5 separate regions of the Homo sapiens genome follow, and regions 1, 3, 4 and 5 are each linked to region 2. The links are contacts of gene promoters, found by promoter capture Hi-C in blood cells and fetal thymus (Javierre and others, 2016). All regions are on one chromosome and are shown on one strand. The core of a region is centred on a gene start or on the middle of the fragment in contact, and the rest is flanking DNA. Distances in the headings are between cores, read along the strand shown.

Region 1 (2,700 bases), core at 52-2,551, 510 kb before region 2:
GTTCACACGGGGGAAGGGGTGCGTGTGGCAGAAGCAGCTGTATAAATACGGGTGCGGGAAAGTCCCTCCGGGTCACTTGGAGAGTTTGCTGATGACGCGGATCAACGCTGCATTCTCATCCTTGAGGCGCTGGTTGTCAGCGCGGAGGTCAGACAGGGCCTGGGGGACGGCAAGGGTCAGCTGGGCAGCCCTGGCGGGTTGCACCCCCACCCACCCTCGGCCCTCTGCCCACAGCCCCCACAGCCCCCACCTTCAGCTCCTCCTCCAGCTCTGCGGCCTTGCGTTCCAGGGCCCTGCGCTCCTGGAATGAACAGGGAAAGTGCAGAAACTGAGTGAGGCTGAGGAGGGCAGGGGAAGGCCAGGGGCCAGCTGGGAAGGGCAATGTGGCTCCCTTGGTCCAAACTTAGGGATGTGAGGCTGGGGACGCCTCTGGCCCCCATCCCCACTGCCCCTACTCACGAATCTCTCCAGTTCCAGGAGGGCTGGCCTCTCAGCGAAGCGTTCTTGCCTCTGGTGAGGACACAGAAAGCACAGGGGTCAGCAGAAGAAGCCAGCACTGCTCTGAAGGGTCCTAGGCTCCTGCTGGGCACCCGCCCGCCCACTAGGCAGCCCACAAGCCCTTCCCCCACGGGCCAGGCCCCGCCACCGGCAGGCCCACAGCCCCATCCCCTCGCTCAGACTCCGCCTCCGAGATCTCGGCCCCGCCCCTCAAGTGAAGCCCAGCCCCGCCGGCACCCCCAGGCCAGGCTCTACCTCCCAGCAGTCTAAGCCCCACCCAGGCGGCCCTGCCAGTTCCCGTGACCCTGGCCTCGGCGCCCTTACCTGCGTGGCCCGCTCCAGCTCCACCTTGAGCTGCGCCAGCCGCAGCGTGGTCTCGGTCAGGGCCTCGCGAAGCCGCTCGTTCTCCCTGCGCAGCTCTGCATACAGCTGGGGGTCAGGTAGAGGAGGGTCAGGTGGAGGATGGGGCGATGCTGGGGGGGCGGGGAAGCCAGGAAGCTGGGCACCCAGCAGGCAAAGCCCCGACGGAGGGGTGGGATCGCACCGTCCTAAAGCCTCCGTCTGGCTCTTCCGATTCTGGCTCAGGTTCTGGGTTGAGGTCCCGCTGCCACCGCTGCCTGCGGGCCGAGGGGCCGCCCTCCAGGGTGCTGGGGCAGGGGAGGAGCGCGCGTCAGGGGCCGGCCCGGCCCGCACGCAGACCCCACCTCTCCCACCCCGCCCCTACCTGGACTCCTGGCTGCGGTCAGCCGGCTCCGCCTCCTCCCCCTGTGGGCAGGTAGACGGGGGTTCAATGGGTATGGGAGGGACTTTAGCGGGTATGGGAAGGGCTTTGCCCGCCCCCCGGCCCACCCTCTGCACCAGCTCGGCCCCACCTGAGCCCCTCACCTCCGCAGGCCCCCTCCACTCCTTTCCGACCTTGCGGTGCTCCCTGGCCGCCTGCGGTCCCGGACCCTGCCCGTCGGGCGCCTCTGCTGGGGGAGGGGCAGGAATCAGCCCAGGCACCTCCAGAGCCCCCTCTCGGTGCCTGGGTCCCCGGGTCAAGCCCCCAGGAAAGCAAGAAGACTATGGGAGAAACTGGATGATTCCCTGGGAATGACCTCCCCGAGAGCAGACCTCACCTCTCTGGGCAGGGCTGTCAGAGTTCTCCACTCCAGGGACGCGGGGCCTTCGGGAAGGGTCCTGTCGGGAGGGGGAGGCGAGTCAGGGAAGCAGGACATCCCGCACCACCCCACTCGCCCTCGCTGACCCCTCTCACCAGGCTCTGCGCCGGCTTCTCTGACTCTGGGGCCTTCCCTGCAGCCTTCTCTGCCTCCTTCAGGTCTGTAAGAGTCACACCCTGGCAGGGAAAGGGGACAGTCAGGGGACGCTGGGGTCAGGGCCCAGCCCCTCCTCCCTCAGACCCAGGAGCCCAGGCCCCAGCCCCTCCTCCCTCAGACCCAGGAGCCCAGACCCCAGCCCCTCCTCCCTCAGACCCAGGAGTCCAGACCTCCAGCCCCTCCTCCCTCAGACCCAGGAGTCCAGGCCCCAGCCCCTCCTCCCTCAGACCCAGGAGTCCAGACCTCCAGCCCCTCCTCCCTCAGACCCAGGAGTCCAGGCCCCAGCCCCTCCTCCCTCAGACCCAGGAGTCCAGACCTCCAGCCCCTCCTCCCTCAGACCCAGGAGCCCAGGCCCCAGCCCCTCCTCCCTCAGACCCAGGAGTCCAGACCTCCAGCCCCTCCTCCCTCAGACCCAGGAGCCCAGACCCCAGCCCCTCCTCCCTCAGACCCAGGAGCCCAGGCCCCAGCCCCTCCTCCCTCAGACCCAGGAGCCCAGACCCCAGCCCCTCCTCCCTCAGACCCAGGAGCCCAGGCCCCAGCCCCTCCTCCCTCAGACCCAGGAGCCCAGACCCCAGCCCCTCCTCCCTCAGACCCAGGAGTCCAGGCCCCAGCCCCTCCTCCCTCAGACCCAGGAGTCCAGACCTCCAGCCCCTCCTCCCTCAGACCCAGGAGCCCAGACCCCAGCCCCTCCTCCCTCAGACCCAGGAGTCCAGGCCCCAGCCCCTCCTCCCTCAGACCCAGGAGCCCAGGCCCCAGCCCCTCCTCCCTCAGACCCAGGAGTCCAGGCCCCAGCCCCTCCTCCCTCAGACCCAGGAGTCCAGACCTCCAGCCCCTCCTCCCTCAGACCCAGGAGTCCAGGCCCCAGCCCCTCCTCCCTCAGACCCAG
Region 2 (2,700 bases), core at 94-2,593:
GGCCACTGCTCTCTGTGCCCCTCCCACTGTAATTTAAGCCTCTCCCACTCTTCCTTAAGTCCCACCTACTCCCTTCAAAGTCCCCCACAATGTTCCCTAAGGATCTTGTATTCTTTGCCAAGCCCTTTTCCTTCCAAAAGGCCCTCCCACTCCCCTCTAAGCTCCTCCCACTCCTCTTCCAGGATGACCACTTAGCGAATGGGAGGGCAAAGATTTGGGGCTAAGCACACTGGAGTCATCCTTGCAGGGAGACCAGAATTACTCCTGTAACATCAGATAATAAAAATTCTTCATCTGTAAAATGGGAATAGTAGTACCTACCTCATGGAGTGGTGGCGAGAATTAAGTAAAATTGTGGCAATAAATGCTACGTGCCCACTTAAGCTGGTGCACAGCAAAGACGCAACAAGTAAGCTGTTTGGATGACTATTATCCCGTAAGTTCCTCCTGGATTCCTCCTTAAGTCCTACCATGATTGCTAAGTTATTTGACTTATCTAAGCCCCTCTCGGGTCCACTAAGACCCACTTCCAAAACTCCACCCAATTTTTCCTTTAAAGAAGCCACATCCTTTCTAAGACTCTCCACTGGACTCCCGTCACCTTCTCAGGCCTTCTCTACGAAGTCTATTCCCATCCCCTGCAAGTCCTTTCCACATTCATTATAAAGACCTGATAGTTGCATTAAACCCCTCCAAATTACACCCTTAAACTCCACCCCCCTCACTAGGCCTACCTACTTCTCTAAGCCACACCCCAGACAAACTCCATCCCTTCTACTCTAAACTCCTCCCTCCTGCTTCCTGGGCTCCCTTTACCCAACCAGCCTCAATGAGTTTCCTTCCACCCCTCAATCCAGGGCCTACCCACCATTCCTTCTGAGCCACGCCCCTTTATCAAACCCCACCTCTTTGCCTAAGACCCTCCCATTTTCTATCCAGACTCTCCCTCCTCCACGCCCCTCCCACTTCCACTCTAAGCTCCGCCCAACTCAGGCTCCTCCCAGCCCTTGCTCCGCCCCAGCAGCCACTAGGCCCCGCCTCCTCCTCCACCCCGCAGCCTGAGGAGCGGGCCCCCCCACTTGCCCAGTCTGCTCCAGGCCCCAGGCCCCGAGAGCCGGCCTTTTGTGCCCCTCCCCCTGCCCCTAAAAGGTGCAGCCCTGGGCGCCCGGTTGGGGGGCAGGTCGGGCAGGCCCCGGGGCCAGGCGAGTCCACCTCGCTCGTACGGAGCGTTGGTCCTGGAGACCCGGGGCGGCCCCGGGAGGCCGGGGAAGTCCGTCGGCTTTCCTCTTTAATTACTTACACCTCCCTCTGGGCGCCGACATTTTGGGCAGCGGGGGCAGCGTCACTTCCACCCGGGGGGCCCCTCGACTTCCGCCTCAGCTCCCTTCCCCCGCCGTACTCCCCCTTTCTCCCGCCCTCTTGGCTCCCCTTCCTCATCCCCGCCCTTCTCCCTCTTTCCCTTTCCTTTCCCAGCCCTGGAGGTTGAAGAAGCCAGGCCCGCGCCATCTTGGGTGAGGGCAGCGGGAAGGGGCGGGGCTTAGGGACACCCACGGCGCCATACAGACTAAGGGCAAGGAGCTGAGAGCGAGGGGGCTTCTCCGTGGCGACACTAGGCGATGCTAACGTAAATGAGAGCAGATACTATTTCTTTTTCACAGCCTCGGACTCCTCCGATTAGGATGTACAGTTGGACTAGGGAAAAAAAAAGAAAGCGAAGTGCGCCAACTGCAATACAGAGCTGGAAAAGACCGGCACCATCTTATCCACTTAGCACTCCATGGGCTTCGAAGCCTGTCCGGTGCCATGTTAATTACGGGCACTGGGCAGCCATTTTCCCGCTCCTCATCATTCGGTATCTGTCTTTGGGTCACCCGACTGTGGGCTTTGTGAGAGGAAAGGCGTTTCGAGGTGGTTGGGGATGTGGTGCTGGGTTATTTCCCACTGGGGACACACCAGGGCCGCCGGTGCGCAGGCGCGGCTTCCGGGCGTGGCCGCGACCGGTCGTTAGGACCCAGCGAGTCCCCTTTGTTTCCCGCGGGCGCGCAGGCGGGCGGGAAGGGCAGGAAGGGAGGGGCCCGGCGCTTCTCCGAGGGGCGGGGCCGGCACCGCGCGCCGCCGCCCCCGCCTCGCCGCCGCCGAGGGGCAGGGCCCCCTCACCCCCTCCCCTTCCCACGCGCCGGCCCCGTTGCCCCCGCGCGCGCGCACACTCGCGAGCCCCGGCGACATGCAAATGAGGTACCCGAGAGGCGGGGGGCGCAGGCGGGAGGGGGGGTGTGGGGGTAGGGGAGGCCGGGCCGCGCGCTCCCGGAGCGCGCCTCCAACACCTGTTCCTGCTCCCGCGCTCGCGCCCCGCGAAGCCGTCCGGGCGCGCGCGCGCAGACCCCCTTCCTGGCAGCCCCCGCCGCCCGCTTACCCGGCGCCGCTCATTGGCCGTCGCCCCCGCAGGGCCCGCCCCGCGCTTGGGCTTCGCAGCTCGGGGGCCGATGGGCGCGTCAGTACCGGGGCGAGGGGACGGGGAGGGTCGGGGGACCAGTCTCCCCCTTTCCACCGTTCCAAAGACCAGACTCCTAGACTAGGCTACCCCGTGGGAGCGAACCGTATGGAAAGGTGGTTGCTCCTCTCTGGACAGCAGTCTATGTGGCTGTTAAAGGGGAGGGGGGGGTGCAGGGGGGCACCTGCAGCACCTGCTTCCAGCTGCAC
Region 3 (2,700 bases), core at 191-2,690, 300 kb before region 2:
TGATGACGACAACCTCCGCCAGCTGCTGGAGAAGGTGAAACGGGGCGTCTTCCACATGCCCCACTTCATTCCTCCAGATTGCCAGAGCCTCCTGAGGGGAATGATCGAAGTGGAGCCCGAAAAAAGGCTCAGTGTGAGTTGAGGGGGGGACCGGCGGAGGGGGGAACAGTGGCCGATGAAGACAGAACCCCCTAGAAAAGTCATGGGGATGGGTTTCCAGAACCTGCTCGTCAGTCCCCAGGGTGACTGGGATCGCCAGCTGAGCCGCAGCCCAAGGTCCAGCACAGCTGCCGCTCCAAACTGGGGAGGGGGCTACGCAAGATTGGGGCGGGGAGCTCCAGGCAGCGGGAGGGCGCAGGAGTAAGGAGGCGAACAGGATGCCACTGCGCATGCGGCAAAGTAATGCGGCCGGTCCGGGGTACACGGAGACCGCGCGTGCGCGGGGCGATGCACTCAGTCGCCACTAGAGGGCGATGTAATATGTCATCCTGCCCCCGGTGGGGTGGGCGGGGAGATGATCAGGGACCCCAAAACCACCCCAGTCTTTCATTGCGCGCCTACATGTGCCTACGACCTCACTTCTGCTTCTCTACGACTCACCACCCTCACAGCTGGAGCAAATTCAGAAACATCCTTGGTACCTGTGAGTATGGGGTAACTGGACTCTTGGGTCCCTGGCGGAAATAGGGGAGGGGCCAAAGCAGTAGAAGCGGCTGGGAGGGGTGGGATGCCAGGGTTCCTGAGAGGCAACGGGCTAGGGACTCGGACTTATGGGTCCTGGGGGAAGAGGACACAGCTAGAGAAGGAGTCTAGGGGTCAGAGGCAGGAGGGGCTAAGCTAGGAGTCCAGGACTCCCAGGTTTGAGGGAAAAAGGGACTGGGGGCCTGGACTCCTGGATCCGAGGGAGGAGGGGCTGGGGGCCTGGACTTCTGGGTCTGAAGAAGGAGGGGCCGGGGGCCTGGACCCCTCGGTCGGAGGGAAAAGGGGCTGGAGGTCTGGACTCCTGGGTCTGAGATGGGGGGCGAGGTCTGGGGCGTCTGGATTCCTGGGTATGAGAGAGAAGGGGCCGGGGCCTAGACTCGGATTTCGGGGTCCGGGATCATTGAGTCTAGAATGAAGAATGCTGAATCTCAGAAGCCCGGTTCCCAATAATGTTTCTCCACTTCCCCAGAGGCGGGAAACACGAGCCAGACCCGTGCCTGGAGCCAGCCCCTGGCCGCCGGGTAGCCATGCGGAGCCTGCCATCCAACGGAGAGCTGGACCCCGACGTCCTAGAGAGCATGGCATCACTGGGCTGCTTCAGGGACCGCGAGAGGCTGCATCGCGAGCTGCGCAGTGAGGAGTAAGACCCCAAGACCCCTGCACCCGTGTACCCACGTGGGGCGAGCTGCAGCAGCTCCCTGCGCACATGCAGAGTGCTGGGCGAGGAACCCTGGCCTCTCATGGGGCATGGTTTGAAGCTCCCGCCTGGGAGTGATGGAACCAGCGGAGAAAACGGCCCAGAAACACGCTGAGAAAGTATTAATAGATGCTGCGACATAGTACTTACATATACATAGTACTTACAAATAGTTCTTGCCTGGATGTTAGGTGTTACAGTGTTATTATAATTGAGTGAAACACAGCTGAGATGTACCCTAAACCAGAGAAACTGACCATACTGATACCTAGAAAAAATGGAACCATGGGCAGAAATACAGGGAGCGGAGGAGACCTCCTCTGAGCATTGATGTTGGACCTCAGCCCTCTGCTACCTCTTTCCACCTTTCCCACCCCCTGCCTTAGGGAGAACCAAGAAAAGATGATATATTATCTGCTTTTGGATCGGAAGGAGCGGTATCCCAGCTGTGAGGACCAGGACCTGCCTCCCCGGAATGATGTTGGTGAGAAGGCAGGGCTAGGGGACCAGACACCTGGGTCTCGAGATTGGAAGAGGCTGGCCACGGGGACCCCAGATTCCCAAGGAAAGAAGGGGCTGCAGGCTCTGAGCTTCCAGCTTTAGACTGCTTGACTTGCTCTTTGACATTTATCAAATCCCCTCTCCACTCTAGGCCTGTTTCCCCATGTGTGCAGTTTCTGAGGCAGTTGTACACAGCTGGGTGAAACCATCTCTTGATTGGGTTGAAACTGTTGTCCCTCAGACCCCCCCCGGAAGCGTGTGGATTCTCCCATGCTGAGCCGTCACGGGAAGCGGCGACCAGAGCGGAAGTCCATGGAAGTCCTGAGCATCACCGATGCCGGGGGTGGTGGCTCCCCTGTACCCACCCGACGGGCCTTGGAGATGGCCCAGCACAGCCAGAGGTGGGAGCCCCTGTCCCTCCAGGAGGATCCACAATCCCTGGGTCTAGGAGTTCAAGATTCTAACCCCAGCTCTACCTCAAATGTGCTGTGTCCTTGGGACAATTCACCTCCCCTCTCTGGGCCTCATTTCCTCACCTGGAAGGACTGTAGAAGTGAGGGAACATCTGTGGTTTTTGAAACCCTCCCATCTGATTTTTTTTTTTTAAATCTATCCTGGAAACAGATCCCGTAGCGTCAGTGGAGCCTCCACGGGTCTGTCCTCCAGCCCTCTAAGCAGCCCAAGGGTAAGGCCAGGTCCCCAGTGGGATTTAAGAAGGAGAAAGGGGTGGAGACATGGAGCAAAGATTGAGTAGCAGAAACTACAATTCCTGTGCAGTCTTGAGACTTGCTTCTTTGTCC
Region 4 (2,700 bases), core at 5-2,504, 410 kb before region 2:
TCGATCTGTCACCCAGGCTGCAGTGCAGTGGCGTGATCTCAACTCACTGCAAGCTCTACCTCCCAGGTTCACGCCATTCTCCTGCCTCAGCCTCCCAAGTAGCTGGGACTATAGGTGCCCGCCACCAAGCCTGGCTAATTTTTTGTATTTTTTAGTGGAGACAGGGTTTCACCACGTTAGCCAGGATGGTCTTGATCTCCTGACCTTGTGGTCTGCCTGCCTCAGCTTCCCAAAGTGCTGGGATTACAGGCATGAGCCACCGCACCCAGCAATCTTGTTTATTGATATCTCCTGTACTAGAATATAAGCCCCTGGCGGGCAAGAATCTTGGTTTCATTTGCTGTTTGTTTGGCACCTGGAACAGTGCCTGATACATGCTGGTGCTCAGCTGATATCTGCTGAATGAATGAATGTCCGGGAGTTGAGACCAGAACTGAATTCGCTGGCCCAGGCTGCTTGGGGAGTGAGTCACGATGGAAGGGCCGTGGTCCCTGTCGCAGAGGCATGGGCCCCTTCTGAGACCTTTGTGGGTAAATGCATTGATCCACCCTCTGACCTAGCTGGCAGCCAGCAAACACCCCTTGATTTGACCAGATTCTTTCCAATGCACCCCCCAGACCTTCTGCTCACCTAAAGACCAGATCCCTGAGTTCTGGTTTCTGCTGCTTCTTCTTATTCCTGGGAAAAGGACGTTAGGATGAGAGGCTCAGGGGGTGAGGCTGCAACCAGCGGTCCTCCTCCTTCTTCTCCAGCCCCCACCCTCCAGGCGGTCAGCCCTGTGCTGAGTCTCACCTCCTCTTCAGGAAGAAAATCAGCAGGCCCACGAGGATGAGAAACAGGAGGATGCCCACAAAGGCTCCGGCAATGACCCCTGTGGGGAGGAGGCATCGGGAACCCTCAGAGCGCAGGTCTGAGCTGCTCATCTGTCTCCAACCCTGCCCAGCCTTTCCTCTTCCCCAGGAGCCTGGTCCAAAGACAGCTGACCCCCGAACATCACACGGTGTGAATTGCGTCGGTCCAGTTATACTTACGCGCTTACCCATGGATTTTCCTCCACCCCTGAGACAGCAAGACCAGCCCCTCTCCTACCTCCTCCTCCTCCTCCGCCTACTCAACGCGAAGACTACAAGGAGGAAGACCTTTATGATGATCTACTTAATAAATAGCGAGTACATTTTCTCTTCCTTAGGATATTCTTAGTAACATTTTTTTCTTTAGCTACTTGATTATAAGAATACAGCATATAGTACGGCCGGGCGCGGTGGCTTACGCCTGTAATCCCAGCACTTTGGGAGGCGGAGATGGGCACATCACGAGGTCAGGAGATCGAGACCATCCTGGTTAACACGGTGAAACCCCATCTCCACTAAAAATACAAAAAATTAGCAGGGCGTGGTGGTGGGCGCCTGTAGTCCCAGCTACTCGGGAGGCTGAGGCAGGAGAATGGCGTGAACCCGGGAGGTGGAGCTTGCAGTGAGCCCAGATCACACTACTGCACTCCAGCCTGGGTAACAGAGCAAGACTCTGTCTCAAAAACAAACAAACAAACAAAAAGAATACAGTATGTAGTACATATTACAGATGAAATGTATGTTGTTTATGTTATTGGTAAGGCTTCCAATCAAGAGTAGGCTATTAGTAGTTAAGTTTTGGGGGAGTCAAAAGTTATGTGCAGATTTTTTTTTCTTTTTCTTTTTCTGAGACAGAGTCTTGCTCTGTCACCCAGGCTGCAGTGCAGTGGTGCGACCTCGGCTCACTGCAACCTCTGCCTCCCGGGTTCACGCCATTCTCCTGCCTCAGCCTCCTGAGTAGCTGGGACTACCGGTGCCCGCCACCACTCCTGGCTAATTTTTTGTATTTTTAGTAGAGTTGGGGTTTCACCGTGTTAGCCAGGGTGGTCCTGATCTCCTGACCTCGTGATCCACCTGCCTCAGCCTCCCAAAGTGCTGGGATTATAGGCATGAGCCACCATGCCCGGCTGTTATATGCAGATTTTCTACTGTGTAGGGGACAATTGTTCAAGGGTCAACTATCCATCATTTTCACAGGTGACCTGGTTGCTGAAGAGTGACTCCTGGCCAGGCATGGTGGCTCACCCCTGTAATCCCAACACTTTGGGAGGCTGAGGTGGGTGGATCACTTGAGCCCAGGAGTTTGAGACCAGCCTGGGCAACATAACAAAACCCAGTCTCTACTAAAAAAACAAAAGTTAGCTGGGTATGGTGGTGCACACCTGTCATCCCAACTACTCAGGAGGCTGAGCATAAGAGTCACTTGAACCCGGGAGGTGGAGGCTGCAGTGAGCTGAGATTGCACGACTGCACTCCAGACTGGGTGATAGAGTGAGACTCTGTCTCAAAAAAAAAAAAAAGAAAAAGAAAGCAAAACAAAACAAAAAGAACCCCAACAAAATAGCTGGGCATGGTAGTACATGCCTGTAGTCCCAGCTACTCAGGGGACTGAGGCAGGAGGATCACTTGAGCCTGGGAGGTGGAGGCTGTGGTGGGCATGATCGTATCACTGCACTCCAGCCTGGGCAACAGAGTGAGACCCTGTCTCAAAAAAGAACAAAACGAAACAAAACAAAAAAGTGATTCTTGCCTTCCTTAGCTTAGACTAGTGGTTCTCAACAAGGGTGATTTTGCTCCCAAAGAGACACCGGGCAATGTCTGGAGACGCTTTTGGTTGTCACAGCTTGGA
Region 5 (2,700 bases), core at 63-2,562, 380 kb before region 2:
GAGTCTTGAGTAAATAACTTCGGGCGGGGCGCGGTGGCTCACGCCTGTAATCCCAGCACTTTGGGAGGCCGAGGCGGGTGGATCACTTTAGGTCAGGAATTCGAGACCAGTGCGGCCAATATGGTTCTGAAAATCCCGTCTCTACTAAAAAGACAAAAATTAGCCAGGCGTGGTGGCAGGCTCCTGTAATCCCAGCTACTCGGGAGGCTGAGGCAGGAGAATAGCTTGAACCCGGAGGTGGAGGCTGCGGTGAGTCAAGATCGTGCCACTGCACTCCAGCCTGGGCGACAGAGCGAGACTCCGTCTCAAAAAAAGAAAAAACAAAAACAAAACAAAACAAAACAAAAACTATGAGAAAATTCCATCCCCCATTGTTCGGAACCCAGGAATCTGGGCGCTGTGTGGTTTTCCATAAAAACTGGTATATTCGTTTGCTAGGGCTACTACAACAAAGAGCATAGACTAGGTGACCCAAACAGCAGAGATTTGTTTTCCCACCGTTCTGGAGGCTGGAGGTCCAAGATGAAAATGTGGGCAGGGTTGGTTCCTCCTGAGGCCTCTTTCTCCTTGGCTTGCAAATGGCCGTGTTCTCCCTTGTCCTCCATGTGTCTGTGTCCTAACCTCCTCTTCTGATAAGGACACCAGTCAGGTTGGATTATGGCCCACCTTAGTGTGACTTTTTTTTTTTTTTTTTTGAGACAGCATCTCACTCTGTCTCCCAGGCTGGAGTGCAGTGGTACGAACACAGCTCACTGCAGCCTCTACATCCTGGGCTCAAGTGATCCTCCCACCTCAGCCTCCTGAGTAGCTGGGACTACAGTGGCACATCACCATGCCTGGCTTACATATATATATATATATATATATATATATATATATATATATATATATATATATAATGTATATATATATAAAATGTATATATATGTGTATATATATATAATGTATATATATGTGTGTATATATAATGTATATATATATAATGTGTATATATATAATGTATATATATATAATGTGTATATATATAATGTATATATATATAATGTGTATATATATAATGTATATATATATAATGTGTATATATATATAATGTATATATATATAATGTGTATATATATATAATGTATATATATATTTATTTATTTATTTTAGACCGAGTCTTGCTCTGTTGCCAAGGCTGGAGTGCAGTCCCGCGATCTCGGCTCACTGCAACCTCTGCCTACCAGGTTCAAGCGATTCTCCTGCCTCAGCCTCCTGAGTAGGTGGGATTACAGGTGCCCACCACCATACCCGGCTATTTTTTTTTTTTTTTTGAGACAGAGTTTTGCTCGTCGCCCAGGCTGGAGTGCAATGGCATGATCTCAGCTCACTGCAACCTCTGCCTCCCGTATTCAAGAGATTCTCCTGCCTCAGCCTCCTGAGTAGCTGGGATTACAGGTGCCTGCCACCACACCCACCTAATTTTTTTGTATTTTTAGTTGAGATGGGGTTTCACCATGTTGGCCAGGCTGGTCTTGAACTCCTGACCTCAGGTGATCCACCCGCCTCGGCCTCTCAAAGTGCTGGGATTACAGGCGTGAGCCACCATGCCTGGCCTAATTTTTTTATTTTTAAGTAGAGACAGGGTTTCACCATGTTGGCCAGGCTGGTCTTGAACTCCTGACCTCAAGTGATCCACCTGCCTCTGCGTCTCAAAGTGCTGGGATTACAGCCGTGAGCCACCATGCCCAGCTTGGCTAATTAAAAAAAAATCTGGGGAGATGGGGTTCTCACCGTGCTGCCCAGGAAGATTTCAAACTCCTGGGCTCAAGCAATCCATCTGCCTCAGCATCTCAAAGTGACCTCATTTTATCTTAATCACCTCTTCAAAGACCCTGTCTCCAAATACAATCACATTCTGAGGTACTGGAGGTTGGGACGCCAACTTACAAATTTTTGAAGGAGGATGAAATTCAGTTCATAATAGCAGGGATGAGCTTTATGCCCCCTGAAAAAGACATACTTCCCCAGGTAGATTCATCTGTTAGTGTTTTTTGTTTTGTTTTAGACAAAGTCCCACTCTGTCACCCAGGCTGCAGTGCAATGGCACGATCTTGGCTCACTGCAACCTCCACCTCCCGGATTCAAGCGATTATCCTGCCTCACCCTCCTGAGTAGCTGGGATTACTGGCGCCCACCACCATGCCCAGCTAATTTTTGTATTTTCAGTAGAGATGGGGTTTCGCCATATGGGCCAGGCTGGTCTGGAACTCCTGACCTCAAGTGATCCACCTGTCTTGGCCTCCCAAAGTGCTTTCTTTTTTCTTTTTTCTCTTTTTTTTTTTTTTTGAGACAGAGTCTCACTCTGTCGCCCAGGCTGGAGTGCAGTGGCGTGATCTCGGCTCACTGCAAGCTCTGCCTCCCGGGTTCACACCATTCTCCTGTCTCAGCCTCCCGAGTAGCCGCCACCATGCCTGGCTAATTTTTTGTATTTTTAGTAGAGACGGGGTTTCACCGTGTTAGCCAGGATGGTCTCGATCTCCTGACCTTGTTATCTGCCCACCTCAGCCTCCTGAAGTGCTGGGATTACAGGCATGAGCCACCGCACCCGGCCCCAAAGTGCTTTCAAAGTATTGATTCAAAACTATGGCACAATCCCAACCCCACCCCCACTGCTCAGAACCCAGGGAGCATTGGGTTTGGTAGATTCCTTCTTCCACA

The links. The method cuts DNA at HindIII sites, captures the fragments that hold promoters and counts their contacts. A CHiCAGO score of 5 or more calls a contact.
Region 1: a fragment that was not itself captured here is called in contact with the fragment with the promoter of FIZ1 in region 2 in 4 of 17 cell types (non-activated CD4 T cells, naive CD8 T cells, naive CD4 T cells and 1 more); the score reaches 5.9 in non-activated CD4 T cells.
Region 3: a fragment that was not itself captured here is called in contact with the fragment with the promoter of FIZ1 in region 2 in 1 of 17 cell types (fetal thymus); the score reaches 6.2 in fetal thymus.
Region 4: a contact is called between a fragment that was not itself captured here and the fragment with the promoter of FIZ1 in region 2, in 2 of 17 cell types (fetal thymus and naive CD4 T cells). The highest score is 6.4, in fetal thymus.
Region 5: a contact is called between a fragment that was not itself captured here and the fragment with the promoter of FIZ1 in region 2, in 1 of 17 cell types (fetal thymus). The highest score is 6.0, in fetal thymus.

What each region holds. Positions count from the first base shown.
Region 1 is chr19:55,091,400-55,094,099 of GRCh38, forward strand. PPP1R12C (protein phosphatase 1 regulatory subunit 12C) reads right to left here. Exons shown (of 22, transcript NM_017607.4): 14 at 1,754-1,834; 15 at 1,617-1,677; 16 at 1,384-1,469; 17 at 1,223-1,263; 18 at 1,043-1,145; 19 at 823-927; 20 at 460-510; 21 at 251-301; 22 at 1-159. The coding sequence ends at 73. Among named protein-coding and RNA genes, the nearest start is that of EPS8L1, 17 kb to the left of the region's middle. The HindIII fragment of the contact is 7,228 bases long and covers 1-2,700 here.
Region 2 is chr19:55,598,174-55,600,873 of GRCh38, forward strand. FIZ1 (FLT3 interacting zinc finger 1) reads right to left here and starts at 1,344. Exons shown (of 3, transcript NM_032836.3): 1 at 1,301-1,344. ZNF524 (zinc finger protein 524) reads left to right here and starts at 2,115. Exons shown (of 2, transcript NM_153219.4): 1 at 2,115-2,235. RefSeq lists enhancers at 715-1,589, 1,590-2,463 and silencers at 941-1,360, 2,071-2,620. The HindIII fragment of the contact is 10,107 bases long and covers 1-2,700 here.
Region 3 is chr19:55,301,526-55,304,225 of GRCh38, forward strand. BRSK1 (BR serine/threonine kinase 1) reads left to right here. Exons shown (of 19, transcript NM_032430.2): 8 at 1-133; 9 at 612-643; 10 at 1,172-1,342; 11 at 1,786-1,883; 12 at 2,142-2,301; 13 at 2,525-2,585. Among named protein-coding and RNA genes, the nearest start is that of BRSK1, 19 kb to the left of the region's middle. RefSeq lists a silencer at 1,716-2,010. The HindIII fragment of the contact is 7,445 bases long and covers 1-2,700 here.
Region 4 is chr19:55,190,871-55,193,570 of GRCh38, forward strand. PTPRH (protein tyrosine phosphatase receptor type H) reads right to left here. Exons shown (of 20, transcript NM_002842.5): 11 at 793-871; 12 at 631-678. Among named protein-coding and RNA genes, the nearest start is that of SYT5, 12 kb to the left of the region's middle. The HindIII fragment of the contact is 4,918 bases long and covers 1-2,700 here.
Region 5 is chr19:55,217,437-55,220,136 of GRCh38, forward strand. No RefSeq gene overlaps it. Among named protein-coding and RNA genes, the nearest start is that of PTPRH, 9.3 kb to the left of the region's middle. RefSeq lists a silencer at 513-699. The HindIII fragment of the contact is 5,191 bases long and covers 1-2,700 here.